Regions from separate parts of the Homo sapiens genome. Here region 1 is linked to region 2. Evidence: promoter capture Hi-C in 16 types of primary human blood cells and fetal thymus (Javierre and others, 2016). All regions are on one chromosome and are shown on one strand. The core of a region is centred on a gene start or on the middle of the fragment in contact, and the rest is flanking DNA. Distances in the headings are between cores, read along the strand shown. Region 1 overlaps PMS1 (PMS1 homolog 1, mismatch repair system component). Region 2 holds the start of MSTN (myostatin).

What was found. Contacts are between HindIII fragments. The CHiCAGO score rates a contact against its expected background, and 5 or more counts as called.
Region 1: a contact is called between a fragment that was not itself captured here and the fragment with the promoter of MSTN in region 2, in 5 of 17 cell types (M1 macrophages, naive B cells, total B cells and 2 more). The highest score is 7.5, in M1 macrophages.

What each region holds. Positions count from the first base shown.
Region 1 is chr2:189,810,107-189,815,494 of GRCh38, reverse strand. All of the region lies in intron 4 of PMS1 (PMS1 homolog 1, mismatch repair system component), which reads right to left. Among named protein-coding and RNA genes, the nearest start is that of PMS1, 28 kb to the right of the region's middle. The HindIII fragment of the contact is 6,338 bases long and covers 213-5,388 here.
Region 2 is chr2:190,059,926-190,065,724 of GRCh38, reverse strand. It overlaps MSTN (myostatin), which reads left to right and starts at 2,996. Exons shown (of 3, transcript NM_005259.3): 1 at 2,996-3,501; 2 at 5,290-5,663. The coding sequence starts at 3,129. It also overlaps a transcript of AKAP19 not described here. The HindIII fragment of the contact is 9,340 bases long and covers 1-3,929 here.

The DNA of each region.
Region 1 (5,388 bases), core at 2,132-4,631, 250 kb after region 2:
ATTGGATCTCGTGAGAACTCACTATCATGAGAACAGCATGGGAGAAACTGCCCTCATGAGCCAATCACCACCTTCTCTAAACACATAGGGATTACGGGTCCCTCCCTCAACACATGGAGATTACAATTCGAGATGAGATTTGGGTGGGGACACAGAGCCAAACCATATCAGTAACACTGGTTAACTGGAGAAAAGGGGTGGGAATTAAAGCTTACACTGTCCTACACAACCTGTTCCATGGCTATCTTCTCTCCTACCGATGTCCTTCCTTCTGTTCCTAGAGGACATCAGAATTGTTTCCACCTCAGACCCTTTGTACATGTTCTTCTGTCAACCTTTCCACAGCTAACTCTTTCAGATCTCAGCTTGAGTATCATATCTTTTTTTTTTTTTTTTTTGAGATGGAGTCTCTCTGTTGCCCAGGCTGGAGTGCAGTGGCATGATCTCGGCTCACTGCAAGCTCCGCCTCCTAGGTTCATGCCATTCTCCTGCTTCAGATTCCTGAGTAGCTGGGACTACAGGAACCTGCCAGCCCGCCTGGCTAATTTTTTGTATTTTTTTGGTAGAGACGGGGTTTCACCATGTTAGCCAGGATGGTCTCGATCTCCTGACCTCGTGATCTGCCCACCTTGGCCTCCCAAAGTGCTGGGATTACAGGCGTCAGCCACAGCGCCTGGCCCAGAGTATCGTATGTTTTGAAAATCCATCCTTAAATGCCCTATCCAAGGCTGCTGCTTCTACAGTGGAACTATGTTTTCTTTCTTTTTAGAAAATGTCACTACTTGAAAAAACTTTTGTCTGCCTCGCCTCTTAGAATACAAGTATGAGAGCAAAGAACTACCATGTTTGCCATTATATCCCTAGCACCTTAAACAACAATGAATAATCTGTAGGCATTTAACAAAAAAGTCTTAAATGAATACTTAAAGAAAATAAGAGAAAGTAATAAAGTTTGTATTTGTCTGAATTATTTATTTATGGAAGACACATAGTACTTGCAATTTTTGAAAGGAAATTTACTATAAGAGAAAAATAAAAGAAGATTGGGGGGAAAAGATTTTTGTGGAAAAAGACTAAAGGAAGTGCAATATTCCTATTTTGCTCACACTTGATGTTTTTCTGCTTTTTTCTTGATCTGGTGCCTCATTAGCATATAACATTACTAATGATTTTTTTTTGGGGGGGGGTCTTCCTCTATTTTTATATAGAGCATTTCCTTGGCTTACCTGCATACATCACTTCCAGAGGCAGGATTAAATTCCTTGGAACACCATGTTCTAACATGGTGAGAACACATAGTTCTCACTAGTAACACTTTGGTGCTACTATTCTTTGGCGCTACTATTCTTTGGCTTAGGAAAGTAAAAAGGTCACTGCCAAATTTTGGAGCAAAAGCTGATGGAGATCAAGAAATGCATGCATTTAGCAGTCAGAGCAGGTATGCATTCTGCCTCTACTGCTAAATGGAAAATACACACACACCAGAATCTATACCAGATCCTATTCACAGAGACCTCACTTCATTCTTTGTTCCCCTAGATGTTTCCTCCATTCCCATGTCTTCAACTACTACCTATATGCCAATGATTCTTTTCATGGAAGTTGTAAGCAGCACCATACTTTTATAAATCTCTAAAAAAGAAAAAAACACTTCCAATTAAACTATGATACACTGCCTTAACAACAGTCCCGTGTAACACATGAAATGGACACATCAGCCTCTCATTCCTTTGAAATTTCTTTACTCCCATGAATATGGCAATTTCTTCTGGTGCCATCAATTTCAATGCTTTGCATATGACAGCAATCCTTTGGCACTTAATGCAGCTTCATTTAGTTGTGACTATTTCCCTTTTTAACTCTCATAAAGCAATTGTTGCAATAAAATATGAAGTTGTTTATTCCTCCAATCAACACATGAATTATTAATATTGCACAAAATTCAATTGATACAACAATAAGAACATCCAAAACTGCTGCTTTTCCAAAAAGGATTTTGGGAGGCCATTAATTATAAGCCACAATCTGTTTCCAGGGACGTCAAGTGTGACAAAATGTGCATCTTAGAATTGGTTAACTAAGACACATATCTGAGACCTACACTACTCTTTTAAGTTTTATAGACAGATGCTCACTCATTAACTCCACCTGGCTATCCTCAAGGTATATGAAATCGACCACACTCAGGCTGGAACTCATTATCTTCTTCCTTGGGTTTGATACTACACCTAACCTTCCTTTCTCATATAACACCAACATCCAATGGTTTCCAAAGGCAGATACTACAGAAAGAATTGATTCTTCCCTCTACTTCTTACTGCAATATTGCATAAGTCTTATAGGTCTATCTATTCTATCCTAGGAGTCTCTCCAATTTATGTCAAGTCCTTTCCCTCCCCTCAAACCCTAGTAGTTGAAGACAGTATCTTACAGTAAGACAAAATTTATAGTAGAAATTACCAGTTAATCTTGTAAATAACATATTAATCCTACTAGTTAATTTTGTAAATAACATGATATCAATCGTCTGCCTAAAATAAATTCCAGTGGCTCATAATGGTAAGGTACAAACTACCTGGTATGATATAAAAGGCCCTTCATAATCTAACACCTACGCTACCACTTTCTAAGCTAAACCTCCTGCTTCTACTACTCCAAAATCCTTACACTGAATTCTGTCATGTCATTCTCAGTACTCCATTTTATATGCTTTAATTGGCTTTTTAGCTATATAACTTTGTATTACTTTCAGTGAGTATAACATATATTCTTAAATTATCAGTTTACCTTGATTACCATGAAATAAATTATATTTCACAATGTAACAACTTTGTAATAGTGTACCTCATTTACTCTTACCTTTTGTAAAGTTTTTGTCATGCGTTTTACTTTTCTGTGTGATAAACTCCACAATATACTGATTTTGTTTTTGTAAAATAAGTTTTTAAAATACTCGTCTTTCCATTTTTTCCACACATTTTCTAGTGCTTTTCTTTCCTTCTTGCAGATTCAGGTTGCCATGTAGAATCATTTTCCTTCAGCTTAAAAACCCTGTTAGTATTTCTTGTAGTGCATGGTGGGAGATTCTCTGTTTTATTTGTATGAAATTGCCTTCACTTTGTACTCATTCTTTAAACATTTTTACTGGTTATAGAAGTCTAAATCAAATTTTGTTTGTCTTTTTGTTTTGTTTCATTTGAGAGTCTAATTCTGTCACCCAGGCTGGAGTACAGTGGCGTGATCTCGGCTAACTGCAACCTCCGCCTCCTGGGTTCAAGCAATTCTCCTGCCTCACCCTCCCGAGTAGCTGGGATTACAGGTATGCACCACCACACCCAGATAATTTTCGTATTTTTAGTAGAAACAGGGTTTCGCCATGTTGGCCAGGCTGGTCTTGAACTCCTGACCTCAGATGATCCACCTGCCTCGGTCTCCCAAAGTGCTGGGATTACAGGCGTGAGCCACCGCACCCGCCTGTAATTTTAAATTTAAAAACTTAAAAGATGTCATTCCATTTTCTTTGGACTTCTATGTTTCCAATGGGAAGTCAGCTGTCATTATTTTTATTGTTCCTCTGAATTCAATGTATTTTCTCCTCTGGCTGCTTTTAATATTTCATGAAAGCTGTAAATAGCGCCACACTTTTATGAATCTCTAAAAAAGAAAAAACACTTCCAATTAAAGTATAATACACTGCCTTAACAACACTCCTGTCCAACACATTACTGGTTTTCGGTAATTCAATTATGATGTAGTTAGCTGTGGTTCTGTTTATTTTTTTTCCACTTGGTTCTGTTCACTCTTTGGTATGTGGCTTTGTATCTTTTCAAAAATCTTGAAACATTCTCAGACATTTTCTTTTTTCAATCTTAATTATGTTATTAGTTTTTTTTGTTGTTGAAGACAAGAGTCTCACTCTGTTGCCCAGGCTAGAGTGTATGGCACAATCTTGGCTCCCTGCAACCTCTAATTCCTGGGTTCAAGAGATTCTCCTGCCTCAGCCACCTAAGTAGCCAGGATTACAGGCATGCGCCAAAACACAAAAAAATTGGGTAATTTTTGTATTTTTGGTAGAGATGGGGTTTAACCATTTTGGCCAGGCTGGTCTTAAACTCCTGACTTCAAGTGATCTGCCCACCTTGGCCTCCCAAAGTGCTAGGATTACAGGTGTGAGCCACCGTGCCCAGCCCTCAGACTTTTTTTTTTTTTTTTTCAGATTTTGTTCTGCCCCATTCTCTCTCCTGAGATTCCAGTCACAGGCATGTTAGACCATTTAATGTTGCCCCACAGGTCTCTGATGCTCTTTTCTCATTCTACTTCCGTGCTTCTGTTTGCATATTATTTTTACTGACCTGACTCCAATAAGTCCAACCAATTAATTCTTCATAGTACTTTTTGTTCTAGAATTTTCATTTAGTTTTTTAGTTTCCATTTCTCTGCTGAAATTTGCTACCTTCTTACCAGTTTTGACCATCTTTTCTTCTAAATTCTTTAACATAAGTTTTTTTTTTTTTGTCTGTTAATTCAAACATCTGGGTTATTGATGAGTTTATTTACACTATTGTTTCTCTTGATTACGGATCCCATTTTCCTCTCCTCAAGTCTCTCAAAATTTTTATTTTTGCTAAACATTGAATATAAAAGGATACTAAAGAAGAAAATATTTTCTCCCAGAGAAAGTGCTTTGTTTCCTGCCAAGAGTAGAGTGAAGAATATATCTCTTCAATCTAACTAGGAGTTTATCTGAGTTGAACCTTTTAGTTCCAGTTCAAATGTCTTTGGTTTCAAATGTCTTGAAGATGGAATCAGGTCTCTTTCTCTAGCAAGGTTTTAAGATCCTTCTTTCTCTAGCTCAGTCCCAATTTTCTTAATCACTTTTTACTCAACAAAAGTCCTGCTGAGATTCAGTGTGGGGGTTGGACTAGCTCTGTTTGAGGATCCCATATTCTAATCTGTCATGTCTGCCCACAAGTGGCTATAAAAGTTCAGCTGGTTTCTCCTTGTACCATAAAAGCTCCCTTATTTGTAGAAGACTTGTTCCTTTATCTACCTATGACTCAGTTAATGCTCCCAGGGATGCAAATGGCCACCAGGCACTTCTTTTCTAGGAGGATGTAGTGTTTCTCTTGAGCTTTGTTCATTTAAACTTCTCTGTGACACAGGTCTTCAATGAGTTTAAAGACTACAAGTTTTTAAAATTATGTTTTTTCCCCTCATTGCTACGCAGATAGCAATGGTCTCTTGAAAATCTGTATCCATCATTTTTCTCTTGCCGAAAGGTTACACTCCATGTCTTCTTATCTATCATCTTCAAACTCCTACCATCTTCAAACTCAAACGTCATCTTTTCTGAAAAACTTGCTAACCTCTCTCTAGGCAGTCAGTGGC
Region 2 (5,799 bases), core at 1,747-4,246:
TATTGAACTATTGTTCCCAGGGGAAAAACAGGGTTAGTTGAGCCTCTGGTCATAACATTTACATCACCCAATCAATATATAACCTTGTTTTATGTATGTTTTTGTTTACAAATACATTATTTAATATATATTGTTCATTCATTAACACTGAACTCACAGCCAGCAGCACTATAACTCAGGCCTGAATGATGCTTATCTAGCACATGCATTTTTTCATGAGAACTTTTTTCCCTTAGGCATATCACAGCCTTTTAAAATTGTGGTAAATATACACAACATTTAGCATCTTAACCATTTTTAGGTGTACAGTTCGGTGGCATTAAGCACATTCACACTGTTGTGTAACCATCACCACCATTCATCTTCAGAAATTTTTCATCTTCCCAGACTGAAACTCTGTATCTATCACACAGTAACTACCCCTCAGTGCCTCACCCAGTCCCTGGCAACCACCATGCTACTTTCCATTGCAGCTTTCCTGTGATTAGGAACATAGGAACACCACGCAGCACGTCAGCACTATGCTTGGGGGCCATTTTTAAAAAGCAAAATCAATAAGAGGAGCAATAAAAAAAGAAGCACAAAATATGTGAAAACATGGCACTAAATAGACGGGAAAAAGGGAATTTGTTTATAGTATGAGAGCTGAAACAAAAAGGCGGAACCCTGCCTTGTTTGACCTCATCTGGGAACCTGTGCGTCAGATAGGACTCAAATTTTTTGCCGCTCTGTGAATGCCAGCGAATGACTGAAAAATGCTAGGAATATTGAGTTTCATAGATAAATTTTAGCAAGTAGGCAAATTTGTGAATACAGAAATCATGAATAATAAGAATTGTCTGTTAGCGGAAATGACAACCTTTGTTCACTTTTTTCCAGGTGATAAGAATAAAGAGCTGGAACATGTCTTGTAACCTGGCTGCCTTAGAAAATTTTACTTGCCTCACAGGCCTAGAAAGTAGGCTTTGTGACTGATAATTGGCAGCTATGACCTGAAGCAGTTCTAGTTCATGTGGAGCATAATTTTAAGCATAATCTCAAACCCTTCTGCATAAAACAAAGAGCAAGCACTCAAATGCCAGTTATCAATTACTTACTATATGACAGGTGCCATATTCAGCAATTTACATGCATTATTAAATTATATCCCCCCAAAACCCTATGAGGAAGCTAAAGTTTAGGGAAGTTAAGTATCTCATCCATTATCACATAGTTAGAAGTGGCAAAGTTGAGATTTGAACTCAGGTCTATCTGACTCCAGAGCCTGAGTTCTCAATTCAACTGCTATACAATTCTAAGCATATTAAAAAAAAAGTTTGACTTACTTGGAACTGTATAGATGCATGTGTTACAATGATCATAACATTTGAAAGATTTACACATTGAAAAATGAATTTACCAAACAAATAAAACCTTAGAAGCCAGATCTAATATTGTCCCATAACAAAGAGTATCTGAAATCCTCAGGGCATCTGGTTTGTGTCTGGTTTTCCTTAATCTTTAATGATGAGCAAATCCAATGCATTATGTAAGGCCATTTTTTTCTCAAGAGATGTAGATACCTCTTAAGAATTTGATGAAAATGCATTAACTTTTCAGGCTACTGAGTTGCATTTTAGTGCACCGAGGCAGTAAATTAGTGTACAGTGTGCAAAAATGGTAGTGACTTTAAAAATAAATATTTGATATGAGCCACTGTATTCTCTTGGAAAAAAAAAGTAATGGACTAAATCTCTTAGGAATCCTTAGCTTCCCAAAAAGGAGTAGGAAAAAGAAATCTCCTTTGGCCTAGAAATATCTTCTGTTTCTTGCTGGCTATGTTTGCTTAGCTCTTTAATAGTTCATTTGACTAGATCTTGTGGCTCCCAAAGCTAAGGTTGAACGTTTGATCCCTACAGAGGCCACTTAAATTTAGAGAACAAAAAGCTCTATTCTCTGCTCCCAGACTTTACCCCAAATCCCTGCCAGGTGTCTGCCCTCTGGTCAAAATGAGAAATTGGCAAAGGGGTGCAAACATATCGCAGTATTGGGAAACAACAAAAGGTCACCCCTTTATCATGATGCTCTTTCTCTTTTATGTGCTCATAATATTCTGATATAATTTATAGAGAATAGATACTGCACTTTTTACTCTCTGGATATTTACTGCTGGAAATCTGAGGCAAACTGTAATAATCTCTGCCATGCCAGTTATAAAATTCATTATCTTAGTCTATGTTCAGAGATTTTTCTACTAGCTGGCATTACCCTCTTGGTAATAAACAATGAAAAACACATCTTCTGAGTTATGTTAATCTGCATCTTTAGAATAGGAAATAATAGCACTCAGTCAAAAGTTCAGTATAATTTTCATATTAATAAAAGACATGAAACTATGTAAAAATAATTCCATGCACAATATGTTATAATAACAATGACTTCCAATATTTACTAAGAATTTAGTCAGAAAACAAGTTTCTCAAATTATAGATGAAAATTCTCAACTAGTATCATAATCTTAACTTTTAATTCAGGTCTTCCTAATTTTTATTTTCCTAATTACTTGGCACTAAAAATAATTTAATACAACAAATAAAAATATTTTCTACTTCAAATACTTGCCTAAACAATATAAAATCATTTTAGTTTTTGAGGAAGTAATATTTCATATTTTAAATATGTAGTATAAATTAAAATTGACTTATTTAAATTACAATAAGAGTTGTGTGAGGATTAGTAAGATTTAAGTACAGTTTATATTATTGCCAACATAGACTTTTGTTTTTCAAATGTCACAAATATCTTTTATTATTTGTAGATTTATTTCTTTTATGAAGTAGTCAAATGAATCAGCTCACCCTTGACTGTAACAAAATACTGCTTGGTGACTTGGGACAGACAGGGTTTTAACCTCTGACAGCGAGATTCATTGTGGAGCAAGAGCCAATCATAGATCCTGACGACACTTGTCTCATCTAAGTTGGAATATAAAAAGCCACTTGGAATACAGTATAAAAGATTCACTGGTGTGGCAAGTTGTCTCTCAGACTGTACATGCATTAAAATTTTGCTTGGCATTACTCAAAAGCAAAAGAAAAGTAAAAGGAAGAAACAAGAACAAGAAAAAAGATTATATTGATTTTAAAATCATGCAAAAACTGCAACTCTGTGTTTATATTTACCTGTTTATGCTGATTGTTGCTGGTCCAGTGGATCTAAATGAGAACAGTGAGCAAAAAGAAAATGTGGAAAAAGAGGGGCTGTGTAATGCATGTACTTGGAGACAAAACACTAAATCTTCAAGAATAGAAGCCATTAAGATACAAATCCTCAGTAAACTTCGTCTGGAAACAGCTCCTAACATCAGCAAAGATGTTATAAGACAACTTTTACCCAAAGCTCCTCCACTCCGGGAACTGATTGATCAGTATGATGTCCAGAGGGATGACAGCAGCGATGGCTCTTTGGAAGATGACGATTATCACGCTACAACGGAAACAATCATTACCATGCCTACAGAGTGTAAGTAGTCCTATTAGTGTATATCAACAGTTCTGCTGACTGTTGTTCTAGTGTTTATGAGAAACAGATCTATTTTCAGGCTCTTTTAAACAAGCTGTTGGCCTGTATGTAAGTAGAAAGGAAAAGAGTTTCTCTTTTTCAAGATTGCATGAGAATATATTAATGAGACAAAAATCTGCTGCATTATTTGTTTTCTTATAGAGACAAAAAACTAAAAAATAAAGTACTTGCATAGCATTAATTTAATAAGGCAAATATAGATAGCATGCTTATGCTTTCACAATAATACCACCAAGGCAAGGACTGGGAGATACTACAAGCAGTGTTTAAAACTTACATTAGATTTTAGAATTGTATTTAGTTGTGTAAAATAAGTTTTTTTCACTAATAACAGAAAAAAAAAAAGAAACTTGCTGGATGTTTAAGCTTACTTGAGCACTGCTGAAAACCTCAAGTGATTTCTGTTATTTGAAACTCTCTCAGTAATTTTTTTGTTCTTCACAGTTAAAAATTTAATTTTGAGAGCTATTACACTGAAGAATATGCAAAAATTAAATATCTTAATGTGTTAGTAAGAACAATAATGAAGTAAACATAGCATAATAATCATCATGAACTAAATATTAGAAAATGCCTAAGAAATAAACATTTTAATTGGGTAGGTTATGGCTCACAAAGTCCTCCTTGTACCTTGACCATAGTACTATTATTGAGAGTACCCAGTTTGTGTACTTCCAAGCAGGCACAGTGCTTAATAACCTTCTAAAATATTTTATTCTTCCTGAGAGGGAGGGCTTTTACCTGTAGTATCTACACTGCTTCTGACAGATAACATATTTCATACAATTCCTTTTGCAGTCAGCTCAAAAGAATACTTTCTCCAGGAAAGAGAAACAGGCACCTTGACAGAGAAGGCATGGCAAGAAAAATTTTGTGTTACCTGTTATCTTGCTTTAATACAATGCTTTATATACTTTAAACAAGACTCCAAACAGTTTTAAAATATTATTTCCCTTATTAAGTAATCAGGTTACAATGCAGCAAAGAATTTCCATTTAAGACTCTGCTATCAAATAGGTCTGGAGCAGATTTACCTTTTATAGACAATTTTGGAAAACCAAAATAAAAGAAATTGTTAGTGCTTGTGCTTACATGACAGCCTGGCCCTAAAGACAATACTTTCGAACTTTTCAGATAGCCTGAATATAACATCAAAATTTTTGTGTTAATTATCTGCTTAGTTTTGCTCCTTTAAAAGGTTATTCCAAAGCCAAAATGTAACAGATGTACTGTGTTTTCTACTAATTCCTGAGGCTCAGTAAGTTGCTCAGTGTGTCTTGTCCCCAGGTAATTCAGGCCTGGGGGAAGGGTTCCTTCTTCCAGACTGATTGGTACAGCTGCTCAGTAAGTGTAACTACTCAGATTCCCAAAGAATTCTAAGTGGTTGTTCCTCCACAGTGTCTCTTGTTCTCTCTAATCATCATCATTTTAAAATTTCATTCAGCGTTCATTACTTCATAGAACCTTCCTTTGTCCATAGTTCTCTGGAAGGGGAATAGATTCCTGATGAACAGCTGAAAATACATACGTCTGAAAAATTCTGAAAAGCTAGGGTAATTATTTTCTTTGACATTTTTTTGAGTTATAAAGTTCCACACGGTATTTCATTTTAAAAGACTGCATAGGCATACATTATCTTAATTTAAAAAAATGCTCAACTATTAATATGGAGGGGTTTTGTTAATGGGAAATAATTTCAGCAACTTTTCTTTTCTTATTCATTTATAGCTGATTTTCTAATGCAAGTGGATGGAAAACCCAAATGTTGCTTCTTTAAATTTAGCTCTAAAATACAATACAATAAAGTAGTAAAGGCCCAACTATGGATATATTTGAGACCCGTCGAGACTCCTACAACAGTGTTTGTGCAAATCCTGAGACTCATCAAACCTATGAAAGACGGTACAAGGTATACTGGAATCCGATCTCTGAAACTTGACATGAACCCAGGCACTGGTATTTGGCAGAGCATTGATGTGAAGACAGTGTTGCAAAATTGGCTCAAACAACCTGAATCCAACTTAGGCATTGAAATAAAAGCTTTAGATGAGAATGGTCATGATCTTGCTGTAACCTTCCCAGGACCAGGAGAAGATGGGCTGGTAAGTGATAACTGAAAATAACATTATAATAACCTTATGTTTTTATTCATAATATGAACAAACAATAGTGGAAAATAGCTACAAATTCCCTAAGCTCATAAGCTAGACAAAGGTATCTTACCCCAACGGTAGCCCT